2 separate regions of the Homo sapiens genome follow, and region 2 is linked to region 1. The links are contacts of gene promoters, found by promoter capture Hi-C in human tissues and cell types (Jung and others, 2019). All regions are on one chromosome and are shown on one strand. The core of a region is centred on a gene start or on the middle of the fragment in contact, and the rest is flanking DNA. Distances in the headings are between cores, read along the strand shown. Region 1 holds the start of IAH1 (isoamyl acetate hydrolyzing esterase 1 (putative)). Region 2 overlaps LOC105373418 (a long non-coding RNA gene).

Region 1 (6,666 bases), core at 870-3,369:
CCCTGCTAACAATAGATAACCACCTTTAACTGTAATTTTCCACTACCTACCCAAATCCTATAGTACTGCCCTACCCATCTCCCTTTGCTCTTTTCAGACTCAGCCCACTTGCACCCAAGTGAATAAACAGCCTTGTTGCTCACACAAAGCCTGTTTGGTGGTCTCTTCACGTGGACGCGCCTAACAAGAGACCCTGTCGCAAAACAAAAACCACCAAAAACCAAAACAAAGTGCGGTAGAATTGTGACAAGGTGAGTCTTAAGTCATGGCAGCACTTCAAAAAAAGGCAAAGTAGCTTCCTACCAGTGTGGTGTAGCAGTGAAACTGCAAGTTCTGCAGTCATAGCAGCTGGACTTGGATCTGTCTGCCCCTGACTAGGGAAGAGGCCTTGGCCATTTCCTTGATTTGTCTGAGTCTACCCAGCCATCAGTGCTCAACCCTAAAATATCTAATTGGTCAGACTGAGTGAAGAGTAAATGTTTTCTGTTCCTTCTCCTATATACTGATTAGGGGAGGCAAGCAAAATTAATAAAGGAGGAATGTTCTGTTCAGAACTATCCTTCATCCATAAGACGGATCCCTAAGACATTTTCCATCCATAAGAACTCAAGTATCGGAAACCATTCTCACCTGACCAGCCTGTCAGCCAGCGATGCTCCCCATCCACCCTGCTGGAAGGAAAACTGGAGGAAGAAAAGCCCATTATTACTACTAATGACTGTAACCGGGCATCTCAGCGAGGGCAGTTCTGATTGGCAACTTCTGTTTTCTCGGCGCTCCCTTCTTGGCTTTGATTGCTTCACTCCAGGAGGTCATTTTGGGGATTACAGGTAAGTACACCTGGCAGCACTTTAGCAGAGGGGGATTTTTCTCTATCAAAAGCTAAACAGCCTGTATTCCCAGCACTTTGGGAGGCCAAGGCGGGCGGATCACATGAGGTCTCGAGTTCGAGACCAGCCTGGTCAACATGGCGAAACCCCGTCTCTACTAAAATTACAAAAATTAGCCCGGTGTGGTGGCGCACGTCTATAATCCCAGCTACTCGGGAGGCTGAGGCAGGAGAAACGCTTGAATCCGGGAGGCGGAGCTTGCAGTGAGCCGAGATCGCGCTACTGCACTCCAGTCTGGGCGACAGAGCGAGACTCCGTCTCAAAAAAAGAAAAAAAGAAAAAAAAAAAAAAGCTAAACAGAAATCTAAGTTCAGGAAATAAAGTCAAAGGTCAGTGAGGAAATGAAGGCCACACCGCCTCACTGCTTTGCTGGTTACCGAGCTGAGGGTGAACACTTTTTCATACACATTCCCATGGAATTCGGCAGCTCTGACTGCCCCATATGCCTAAACATAATGTTACCAGTTACTGGCGTATACACAAAAGCCTGGTGAAGCAAGTCCTGTCTGAGAAGAGGACACACACAGGAATGGAATTTCTACTCCCTCCCCGAAGTAAGAACCTGCATTTAGAAGACCGTTCCCTTCATGGGAGGTGAGATGATCTTGGATGAACGGATGGTCCTTTTCTACCTAATTCCTGAAGGCGTTTTACTTCCAAGGTCAACCCCTAACGGCCCCACCTGTGCCCGCAGGGAATGGGGCGAGAGAGCTCCTGGCGCCTCTGCCCGGAGCTGGCCGCGGGGCCTCCTGGGACACAGCGCGCGGTCGCCCGCGGCCGCTAACCCGGACCCGGAGGGGAAAGGCCGCTGCCCAGGAGGGCGCTGAGGGGAAGACCGCGCATCTCGACCCGGGTGGGAGGCGGCGCGGGGCGGGCAGCGCGGCCGGGTCCCCTCGCGTCTGTGCCTGGAGCCCGGGCTCTCGCGGACGCCGTCGTGACCTCCGGGACGCCGCGGGCCCGGAAGGCGCAGCCACTGGGGGACCCGCCACTCCTCCGGTGTCTCCACGGGCGTGGCCAGGCCTCCGGCCCAGCCGTCTCGGGCGCCGAAGAGGACGGCGAGGAGCCTCGGCCTGCTCGGCAGCGACCCCGCAGGGAGGCCGGGGCGGGAGGCCGAGCGTCGGGGCGGCCGTACCTGGGTGATGGAGTCCCCGAAGAGCAACAAGCGAGGCCAGAGCAGGGCACTCCCGCAGCCCGCGGCCTCGCACAGCGCCATGGAGCAGCCGGGCGGGGCGGGGCGGGGCCGCCAGCCACGAGAGGCGCCTGCGCAGTGGCCGCCCGTGGGTTGCGGGAGCCGGGCTCGTGGGCACCCACGCAGTCACTTTGGTGACGCGCGAAGGTCGTTGCCCCTTGGAGTCCGTTTGCAAGAAGCTCGGCCTCCGCGCTTGCTCACCCACAGCAAGGCTGCCCCCAGGGAGTCCGGAGCCCGCGTCCCGCTGCGTGGTTCCCGGAAGAAAAGCGGTTGGGGGCCCTTCTAAGCCCACCCCGCGCTCCGCGGGCGCAGGTGCGTTCGGCAAAGGGCAGGAGTGTGACCTCAGGACGCGCGGCGGGAAGCACAGCTGGCTCTCGGTGGGGCGGAGGGCTGCTCCAGGCCCCCCTGGAAGAGGTCGTGGGATGCGCGCGCGGCCTCCTGCGCCCAGCGTCACTCTGGAGGGCCTGTAACACCCACGAGGACGCAGGCACTGCGGAAACCCTGGCAGTACCTCGTGGTTCTGCGAATGACAAGGGAAAGCAGCTGCACCTTCAGTGCGCGCGCAGCCGGCCGCTTTTCTTTTTCCCGCCGTGGGGTGGATGCGCAGATGCAGAACCCCGCGGACACGGAGCACTGACTAACTTCCAAGGGATTCACCTGTTAAAACGTGGTTGTAATGCAACGTTCTTACCTCAACTGTGCAATGAAGTTCGGCAGCCGAGCTAAAAACGAACGGGTGGGAAGGATGCCTTGAAATCACGGAGCTGTAGATGAGTAACAGAAGGGCCAGGGGCGCCGGCGCAGAGGCCGACCCCGCTCCCTGGGGCGGGGCGATGGGCGTAGAGCATGACTTTCTTTAGGTTGCTCGTCCCAAGCTCGCTTGGATCACCTGGGGGAGCTTTACAACTAAGATCCAACCTAGGGCCCTCATTCCAGCCGGACTAACTCACCTCCTGGTGGCAGGACTTGGGCACAGGTGCACTTGTGATGCACCCCACGTGATTCCCACGGGTAGCCCAGATTGAGAGCCCCTGCTAGAGCAAGCAAAGGTGCCTGGACTTCATCTTTATCACAAGGACTTCATTAAGGCCTTCAAGCAGCAGAGGCTTGAGGCCAGGTCTGTTCCAGGAATCAGCTATAGGGGAGGAGATGGAGGTGGTTGCAGGAATTCAGAGGGGAGAGTAGACTTGGACTCGAACAGCAGCAGTGGAGATGAAGACAGAAAAGATTCAAGTGCAACTTAGAATCCTTATTATTAACTCAAATTGGTTACCCCAGAGGAGAGGGTAACCAGCAGCGGTTGCTATCGGCAGATCTTGATGGTTTCAATGGGAGCTGCACATACATGCCTGGAAGAAGAATCCAAAATTCTAAAATAATGGGCAGTTGATCTAGTAGTTAGTTCTAGAATAATGGACAAATTAATTAGCAATTTAGCAGTATTCAGGCTGTTGAAATAAAGGCCATTTGACATTAAAAGTAAACAGGCTCCCCCAGAGAAACGAATGCATTTTATTTTAGGTAACAAAAGTAGAGTCAAGTATTTTTTCAAAGTTCATATACAGGCACAGTCTCAGTGAACTGGCGTCAGGGCCTCGTACAGTCTCTGTGCAGCCAGCTCCACCATTTCTCGGAGGGATTCATCGTCTTCACTTCCCTCTTCACATTCTACAGTCTGAAAGTGAGGCACAAACAAGACTGTTAGAATTAAGTCTATAATGATTATATAGAAGATAAATGAATACTCTTTAAAAAAACCATCATCTCATAAAAAATTAGCCAGCTGTGGTGGCGTGTGCCTGTGGTCCCAGATAAGAGTCTGAGGTGGGAGGATCACTGAGCCGGGAAGGTTGAGGCTGCAGTGAGCTGTGACTGCACCACTGCACTCCAGCCTGGGCGGCACTGCGAGACCGGGTCTCAAACTAAAAAAAAGAACAATCATCTGTGTGTGCAGAGGTCATGGTGGGACTGATTACCATGAAACAGAACGGCCGCCCTACACACTTGTGGGCGTGCAGTGCTTCCTGACAGCAGCACGGTCCTAATTAGTGATGACTTGAGGCTGGGGTGAAAGACTGGGGAAAGTCTAGTAAACTACATTTACATCAAAGCCCACAGTTTGATCTAGTAAATGATACTCCAGGGAAGTTCATCTATGCCACACAAATTACTTGGCAAGGAATGGATGTGGCTATCTACTCAACATTTGGTACTGAATTTGACTGAAACTCACTAATAATCTTCTAGTTGCTTCTTTTTTTTTTTTTTTTTGAGACAGAATCTCGCTCTGTCGCCCAGGCTGGAGTGCAGTGATGTGATCTCAGCTCACTGCAACCTCTGTCTCTTGGGTTAAGGTGATTCCTGGGTTCTCCTGCCTTAGCCTCCCAAGTAGCTGGGATTACAGGCACACCACCACGCCTGGGTAATTTTTGTATTTTTAGTAGAGATGGGGTTTCATCATGTTGGCCAGGCTGGTCTCAAACTCTTGACCTCAGATGATCCACCCACCTTGACCTCCCAAAGTGTTGGGATTACAGGCGTGAACCACCACGCCTGGCCTCTAGTTCTTTTTTTTTTTTTTTTTGGAGACAGAGTCTCGCTCTATCATCCAGGCTGGAGTGCAGTAATGTGATCTTGGCTCACTGCAACCTCTGCCTCCCTGTTTCAAGCAATTCTCCTGCCTCAGCCTCCTGAGTAGCTGGGACTACAGGCAGCTGCCGCCATTCCCGGCTAATTTTTTTTGTATTTTTTAGTAGAGATGGGGTTTAACTGTGTTGCCCGGGCTGGTTTTGAACTGTTTGGAAAATCCACTTGGATCTTGCTGGTGCAAACAGAAGAGCGGCTTCTTTAAAAAATGGAGAGTCAACTAGATGCCAAACTAGAGAAGGGATGAGGTGAACTAAGCTGTATTATGGAAGAGGACAGCAATGGAGTGGCATACACGCGAACCTTGTACTATGCAGTAACCCGGAAAAACACGGAAAACTTCAACCATAATAATATAAAAAGAACAATGTGAAAAAAATGTTGGAAACACTGGAAGCAAATGCCAATATGCAACAGTAGACTGTTGAGTGTGAGAGCACAGATTATTTATGCCTTCACTTTATTTCCCAAATGTCTTGAAACGTAGGAAAGAGCAGCTACATACCCGTGTCTCCAAGTTAAGGTTGGCAGTTTTCCCGTCCACTGTGACGCTAAGAATAGAGTCATCCTTTACACTTACACAGTCTTCTCCAAATATGTCCCTGAAAATAAGCAGAAATGCAGGATTAGTGAAAATGCCCGGCTTTATATATTTGAGGAAAAAATAAAACTGAAGATAGGTCCTAGTTCTAAAGCAGAATACTGTATTTACTTTTTTTCTTTTTTTTTTTGAGATGGAGTCTTGCTCTGTGGCCCAGGCTGGAGCGCAGTGGCACAATCTTGGCTCACTACAACCTCCGCCTCCCGGATTCAAGTGATTCTCCTGCCTCAGCCTCCCTAGTAGCTGGGATTACAGGTGTGCACCACCACAGCCAGCTAATTTTTGTATTTTTAGTAGAGTCAGGGTTTCACCATGTTGGCCAGGCTGGTCTTGAACTCCTAGCCTCAAGTGATCCACCTGCCTTGGCCTCCCAAAGTGTTGGGATTACAGGCAGGAGTCACCATGCCCAGCCTGTATTTACTTTTGAGACAAGCTTCTTATTTGCCTTGATACAGCTTATTAAGTTTATAAAACAGGGAAAATACACAGCTTTATTCAAGAATGATCTATTCAGCAGGCATCATGCTAGGTGGTTTATATACATTATCTTAACCTATAATTTTAGTAAGGATCCCCTTTTACATGTGAAGAAAACAAGACACAGAAGTTAAGTGATTTGCTTAAAGCCTCACAGCTAGTAAACAGCTGAGCCGGCATTCAAATCCAGGTATCTAGGTTTAAATGGCTCCCAAGCCCACTAGCTGTGCACTCCTACTTTAATTAAACTTGGTATTTATTGAGCATCTTCTGTGTGGCAGATTCCTTCTGTGCTAGTAGCTGGGGATAAAGAAGGCACTAAGACATTGCCTCTGTCATCGAGAGAAACAGTTTTGATGGTTAATTTCAACATCGTCCCCATTGGTACAGAGGTGTTAGGAAACAGCAGTCCACCAGCAGGCTGAATGCAGGTAAGAAAGGCAGGCAGTGACTCTAAACAACCCATGGACCATGGTCAGCCTAGGACAGTTAAGCACTGACAACACTGTATTAAGCGGGGGAAGTGGGGAGTGGGAATCAACTCCTTGCATCTTCAGGCAGTTACTGCTCATCATATGTGTGAATAAACTTAGGTGGGACCCTAGCACAAAGGAAAAGATTATATTTTATTTTATTTATTTATTTTGAGACGGAGTCTTGCTTGTTGCCCAGGCTGGAGTGCAGTGTCCCGATCTCGGCCCACTGCAACCTCTGCCTCCTGGTTTAAGCAATTCTCCTCCCTCAGCCTCCTGAGTAGTTGGGATTACAAGCACCCACCACCACACCTGGCTCATTTTTGTATTTTTAGTAGGGGTATTTTGGATGGGGTTTTGCCATGTTGGCCAGGCTGGTCTCGAACCCCT
Region 2 (6,924 bases), core at 2,365-4,864, 230 kb before region 1:
TGCTCAGGGACCATGACACATGGGTGGTGACCATCAACCACCAAATATCCCCTGGAACAAGTTGTAAGAACTCAGTGCCAAGAGACATCAGTGGGTGGCACTGAGGAACCAGAGGTGATGAGCTCACCCCAGGCAGTACCTCCCACCCAGATGAGCAAAGCCACACTGTAAAAGTGGCGAGTGCATCCGAGGGTTTCTCAAGCTGACTAGGACACAAGGGAAACCAGCCAAAACCCCCAAGCCGGGCGTGGTAGGTGTTGGCAGCCCGGAGGTGGGGAGTGGTGGTGGCAGGATGCCTCGTTTCCCAGGCAACACAGTGGAAACTGTCCCACAAACACCAACCAGGGGGGTGGGGGGGCACAGAAGGGTGGGCAGGGCTGACATCTGAGACGGGAATCTGCTTAGCTACTGCCAGAGGCCTGCCTCCTCTGAGTGCCTGGGGCCCTGGCCCCACCTCCGGGGATGCTCTCTGTTGGCTGGGTTCTGCACGTATTTATTCTTTCACTCAGTAAATGTTTACTGAGCCCCAGTGTAGACTGTAGTGGGAGAGCATGGGCTCTAAAGTCAGAAAGACTGGGGTCTGGATCTCAGCTGTGATGCTTCCAGTTATGTGCCCTTGCAGGCTACATCGCCGCTCTGAGCCTCAATGTTCTCATCTGAAGAATGGGAATTATTCTACCACATTCAAAGGTTGCCATAAGTATGAAATAGGAGAGTAGATGGCAGATAGTCAGTATTCAGTGGATGCAGCTATTATTGCCTGGCTCCATGCCAGACACAAGTTAGGTCAACTGGGGTGGGTGACTAGGGGAAGGCAGACATGGAAATGTATTAGATGCACTCCTGCCCTTGGGAAGCTCTCCTAGCCTATCGGGTGGAGGAGCCTGACTAGAGTCCTAAATTAGGTGAGTAGAACATCTGGAGAGCCATGGTAGAGATGAGCAAAGTGCTGGGGAGCACCTAGGAGAACCCCAACTGGGGGGTTGGGAAAGGTGTTGAAAAAGCATTTCGGTTAAACTTCATCAGACAAGAAATGAGTAGGAAAGGCATTCCAGGCAGAGAGAACAATGTGTACAAAGGCAGGAAGGCAAAACCTCAGCATGGGTTGGAAGGACAGCAAGTAGATCAACTGAGATAAAGCCTAGGGTAAATGATTTTGATAGTGCCACAGGGACTTGGGGAAAGACAGGAGAGAGAAGATGGCCAAAAATAGGCAGGGATTAGATGATAAAGGACCATTTGACTGAACACTTTGATAACTTTTTAACAGAGGAGTTACACAGGATTGAATTTAGAAAGACCACTCTCTTAAACCAGAAGTGTATTGATCGTGCATATATAGACCTACAGAGCAGTAAAACAGAATCGAGTTCAGGAAAATACGCATGCATATATAGGAACTGGATTTATGACAGAATGGCGTCATACATCAGAGAGGAAAGGACATACTATTCAATAAATGGTATTGAAGCAATTAGTTATCTATATGAAATAATGTATAATTATATCCCTCCCTCACACCATATCCAAAAATAAATTCAAGACCTAAATGTGACAAAAATACTGTAAAATAATTAGAAGAAAATTTAAATCAAGCATAGACTTGTAGTTTCACTACAAGGCTTTTTCTCTGACCTGAGCTGTCTTCTATTTTGGGGGAATCACTACATCCATTGAAGACAATATTTATGACATTGGCATAGACAAAATATACTTAAATCAGACACCAGAAGCAAAAATTATAGGCTAAAAAAATTATCAAATTTGACCACATCAGAATTTAAAACTTCATATAAATAGCTAATTGCTTCAATACCATTTATCAAATAGTATGTCCTTTCCTCTCTGATGTATGATGCCATTCTATCGTAAACTCAGTTCCCATATATGCACAGGTCTTTTCTCTGTTTTATTGCTCTGTGGATCTATATATGCTCTATCAATACACTTCTGGTTTAAGAGAGAGGTCTTTCAAAATTCAACCCTGTGTAACTCCCCTGTTCAAAAGTCACCGATAAAAGACACCATAGACAAAATTAAAACATAAGTATTGATTGGAGGAAAATATATGCAAAACATGATAGACAAAGGATTGGTATCAAGGATGTTTAAAGAACTCCCATAAAATAACAAGGAACAGACAAATGGGCAAAATATATGACTAGGTAATTTACAGTAGAAGAAACCCAAATGGGTTTACTCAACAGAATTAGGAATCAGAAACAGGCAAATTACAACAAGATACCACGGTCACCCATCAGATTAGCAAAACAAAGTCTAACAACATCAAGTGTTGGAAAGGTTGAGGGAAATGGGTCTTCCCATATACAATGGATGGGAGTGTAAATTGACACCATCATTTTGGAGGGCAATTCAGCAGTATCTAGGGAAACTGCAAGTGTAACCCAGCAAGGCTCCTTCTAGGTGTTTAGATAAATGCTTGTACCTGAGTACACAAGGCAACAGGTATGAGGGGGTGATCACAGTGTTGTCTGTAATAGGGAAGAACTGGAAACCATGTACATAACCATCAATAGGAGAAGGCATAAATAAATTGTGAAATGGTCCTGCAGAGGGATTCCAGACAGTAGTTCGGGGGATAGACTAGGGTTATGCGAGCACAAATAAGAGTAGATCTCAAGATGTAACAAAGAATGGATGCGCATGAAACACACTAATCTCACAGCACCAGTCTGTCACATAGGTAGTAATGAAGAGAAAGGAATAAACTGGAAATGGAAGCTGGGAGTTGACAAACAGAGGAGGTGATGTGAACTAGCACAGTGGAATCAGTTCCCTCAGTGGAAACTAGAGTCTCAGGATTCCAGACTGGGAAGGAGCCTCTGAGGGTCCATGATCCAAAACTCTCCTTTTCCAGACTCCCTATTTCCCACTCATCCTCATAGATGCCCAGGCTTTTTCTCTGACCTGAGCTGTCTTCTATTTTGGGGGAATCACTACACATATTGAAGACAAGAGGACTGACCCTCGAAGAAACCAAGATGGCAGCAAAGGTAGTTCCCAGTCTAGGCAGCGAGTTGTAGTAATCAAGGACATATTGAGGCCCTACCATTAGCCCAGCATTGAGATTTTAGATTGAGTTATAAAGATGGGCAAGGTAGATAAGATGTAAAACAGAACAGAGATTGCCAAGCATGAGGAAGCACAAGGGAAGTGCAAGTTTCAGCAGGTCTGGAGAGGAACCCAGGAATCTGTGTTTTTAAAACACACTTAAAGTTATTCTGTTCTAAGTAGTCCACAAACCTTATTTTAGAAAAAATGTCATAGCATACTGGCGCTGAGAGGAACTTAGAGAATGTCCAATCCGATGTCCTAATTACAAGTGAGAAAACGGAGAACTAGAGAACTGACTTGTCAAAGAAAGCTAAAAAGCTACCTTAGTGGAATACGAAGAGGAACACTGATATTAAACCCTATCCTACCTCAAGTATAGACCCAGAAGGCACTTCACCTACATTGTCTCAATTCTCCCAACAATTGAGGCTCAGAAAAGTTAAGTAAGTTGTCCAAGATCTCTTAGCCAGACAGCAGTGGGGCCAAACTCATACCTAGCTTCATCAGACTCCAAAGGCTAAAAAGTCTTTCCAAAGGAAGCACAAAGGCAAGAAATTGACTTATTTTCATAAGGTTTCACCAAAAGAGAAGTGCTAGAGTTTCCATTTCCTCTCCTAGTCTTTTTACTTTTTCATGTTGGAGGGGTGGGTAGAAGAAGGTTTGGAGTTGTTCTCACTCTTCGGTGAACCTTTCCAATCGCCCGTGTTCCAGCAGGGTTCAGCCCAACCTCAGGCCAAAGCCCACAGAACCATCTGGAAAAGTGCAGGTCTGGAAACCTCCTCAGTCAGCCTTTTTTAAAAAAACTTAAGACCTGATGAGTCACTGTGGAACCAGTCACAGATAGGCATGTGCCTTCTTCAGATGCCTTGGTCCGTGGCTGTAGGGAACGTTCTCTGCAGAAGTGTAGATCAGAAGTCCCCCCAGGTGGGCCCATGATGATGCATACAGCTCGAGAACACACGGTTCTGCCCCGGGCCACTCAGTGTGTCACTCGGGATGCTGAACAATGTGAGATCCTGGCTCCAAGGTAGTTATGTTCCCCAAACATACTGTTCGTTATCTCCTCACTTCTGTGCACACCTTTGAACACCTTCTGCTGCAGATGTCCTTTCTCCTCCAGTTGGTGAACGCCTGCCCCTCCCCTATGGTCCATATAGAATAGCTCCTTGTATAGTCACGTGACCATACTGACGTATGCTTGGGGCAACTGGTGAAAATAAGCTTTAGCTAAATAACTTTGATGAAGATCTAGACAAACAGAGCAGGACAGACAGAACCGGGTCAGTCCAAGGATAGGACTCCTGGATGAGTAAACCATTACTCTATCAACCCTCTTCAGGGACATCGCAAAAAGAACAGTGTCTTGCACTGACTAAGCAGCCTGGGACAAGTCTCTTTCCCTCTCTGAACCCCCGAATCCCCTCTTTAAAATGGGGACACTGGGGCCGGGCGCAGTGGCTCATGCCTGTTGTAATCCCAGCACTTTGGGAGGCCAAGGTGGGTGGATCACCTGAGGTCAGGAGTTCGAGACCGGCCTGGCCAACATGGTGAAACCCCTTCTCTACTAAAAATACAGAAATTAGCTAGGCGTGGTGGCGGGTGATACCAGCTACTTGGGAGGCTGAGACAGTAGAATCGCTTGAACCTGGGAGGCAGAGGTTGCGATGAGCCAAGATTGTGCCACTGCACTCCAGCCTGGGCAACAAGAGTGAAATTCCATCCCAATAAATAAATAAATAAATAAATAAATAAATAAATAAAAATTGGGATACTGGATGTTTCTTACAGGTCCCCCAGCTCTGACAACTTTATGGCTTCATGACTCTGGGTCCCCTTTCTCTTCTCCTGAGGGTCATCTGGTGCCCTGGAGAGTGTATGTCCCCACCTGTTGATGCCGGCACTGGCCTCTGCCCTCACTGGCCTCAGCCTAAGGTGGGGCTCACTCTGCTTGGTTTTCTAGTTTCTCCTCTTGGTGTCCCCTCCCTCGGTCTTCTGGAACACTCAGCTGTGGAACGCTCGGCAAGCAGGGATCTCTCAGGCCCTTATCTTGCTGTTCCTACCATGCCACCCTGTCTCCCTGCCATCCTGCTCCATGACAGCACAGAGGCCCTGCACAGCCCTCTCCTCCCAGAGTCCCAGACAGCGTGCAGAGCACCTGCTCAACCTACCTGGGGTCTGTGCTGCTCCCACCCTCACCCTCGCCAGCCTTCTGACCCTTCTCTCAGGGACTCACAATAGCAACCCACTTACTTCCTTTTCAGACTCTCTCTAAACTCTTTCCCCCAGCCTGAAAAGGCGCTCACCATCTCTCTGTGATGGAAAAACCACTGGGTGGTTCGTGGCGTGAACTCTGTGCTCTGAGGCCTTTGGACTTTGTTCATAATATTGAAACCAGGCTGCTGGGGAAGGTGGCAGACAGAACATCTCATTTCACTCCCTCCCAAAAGTCCACCAGAATGATAGTAAACAGATTCACACACACACACACATATGCACAGACATACATCCAACCACACACATGCACACACATACGTGCACACACACAAATAACAGGAGAGCAGACCACGATGTTTGCAAGCAGATGGAAGAATGGTAACAGACTTAGCAGGCCCCAGAAAGCAAAATCTCCAACCCACACTAGAGAAAATTGAGAACCAACTAGATGCACACCTTGGAATTCTCAAGAAATCAACAGTATCAAGAACCTCTGGCACTCAAGTAAACGGGTTACTAAAATAAGGAGGATTGACTCAAAGGATCCAGAAAAGTAGTTGAGTCCCAAGGTCCCCTCTTCACTCATGAGCACCTGCCCTTTCCCTCCCCAGGAGAAGATTGGAGGTCTCTTCTCAGGAGAAGAGTAAAAGTGGTTCTTGGGATTGGGGGATGCAGGCACAGTTGAGGACATACACTCTCACCACAGATGGCAGGTTTAAGCGAATACATGAATGCTGAATGCTCAGACCACTGCCCCCATAGCAGACCTGAGGTCTGAAGCTGGGTCTTTGCCTCGGTGAAGAGACTGGAAATGTCTTCTCTAGAGAACTGAGCCACGGAGTGCACCTTTCCTCATTAGGCATTCAGACACACACCAGACCTCATCTCTGGGACATTTCAGAATACTGTGGACAAACAGAAGATCCTGCAAGCTTCCAGAGACGGGAACAGGTCACTTTCCAAAAGCTAGGAAGTAGAATGGGCTTCATTTCTTTTTCTTTTCCTGTTTTTTGAAACAGAGTCTCGCTCTGTCATCCAGGCTGGAGTACAGAGGTGCGATCTCAGCTCCCTGCAACCTCCACCTCCCGGGTTCAAGTGATTCTCATGCCTCAGCTTCCCAGAGTAGCTGGGATTATAGGTGTGCATCACCACGCCCAGCTAATTTTTGTATTTTTAGTAGAGATGGGGTATCGCCATGTTGCCCAGACTGGTCTTGAACTCCTCACCTCAAGTGATCCACCAGCCCTGACCTCCCAAACTACTGGGATTACAGGCTACCACACCCAGCCCAGAATGGGCTTGATATCCTATAGCAACCCTGGAAACTAAAAGATAGGAGAGCAATGACTTTGGAATTCAAGGGATACTGGTTTATGATCTAGAATGCTACAAATAGCTAACCTATTCATCAGGGAGAGGTTAGAACAGGACACGTTCAGACACACAAGGACCCAAAAGGCTTACCTGCAATGACTCCGTTCTCGGGAAACCTCTAGAGAATGCCCCCCTTTAAAAGGAGGGGTAACCCAAGAAAGAGTCACTGGGCACAGAAAACAAGCACCCCCGCATGGAAAGGCAGCTGAGGGTGGTCCCTAGATGAGGCACAGGCAGATGCTGGGATGACAGGTGCGCTCT

Evidence for each region. Contacts are between HindIII fragments. The study calls those that stand out against the background at their distance.
Region 2: a fragment that was not itself captured here is called in contact with the fragment with the promoter of IAH1 in region 1 in 1 of the 25 tissues and cell types used here (aorta).

Annotation. Positions count from the first base shown.
Region 1 is chr2:9,470,004-9,476,669 of GRCh38, reverse strand. It overlaps IAH1 (isoamyl acetate hydrolyzing esterase 1 (putative)), which reads right to left and starts at 2,119. Exons shown (of 6, transcript NM_001039613.3): 1 at 2,023-2,119; 2 at 631-683. The coding sequence starts at 2,103. It overlaps CPSF3 (cleavage and polyadenylation specific factor 3), which reads right to left. Exons shown (of 18, transcript NM_016207.4): 17 at 5,231-5,327; 18 at 3,569-3,754. The coding sequence ends at 3,653. RefSeq lists enhancers at 500-1,060, 1,541-2,308 and a silencer at 1,578-2,347. The HindIII fragment of the contact is 18,322 bases long and covers 1-6,666 here.
Region 2 is chr2:9,696,661-9,703,584 of GRCh38, reverse strand. All of the region lies in intron 3 of LOC105373418 (a long non-coding RNA gene), which reads right to left. Among named protein-coding and RNA genes, the nearest start is that of YWHAQ, 69 kb to the right of the region's middle. The HindIII fragment of the contact is 7,679 bases long and covers 1-6,924 here.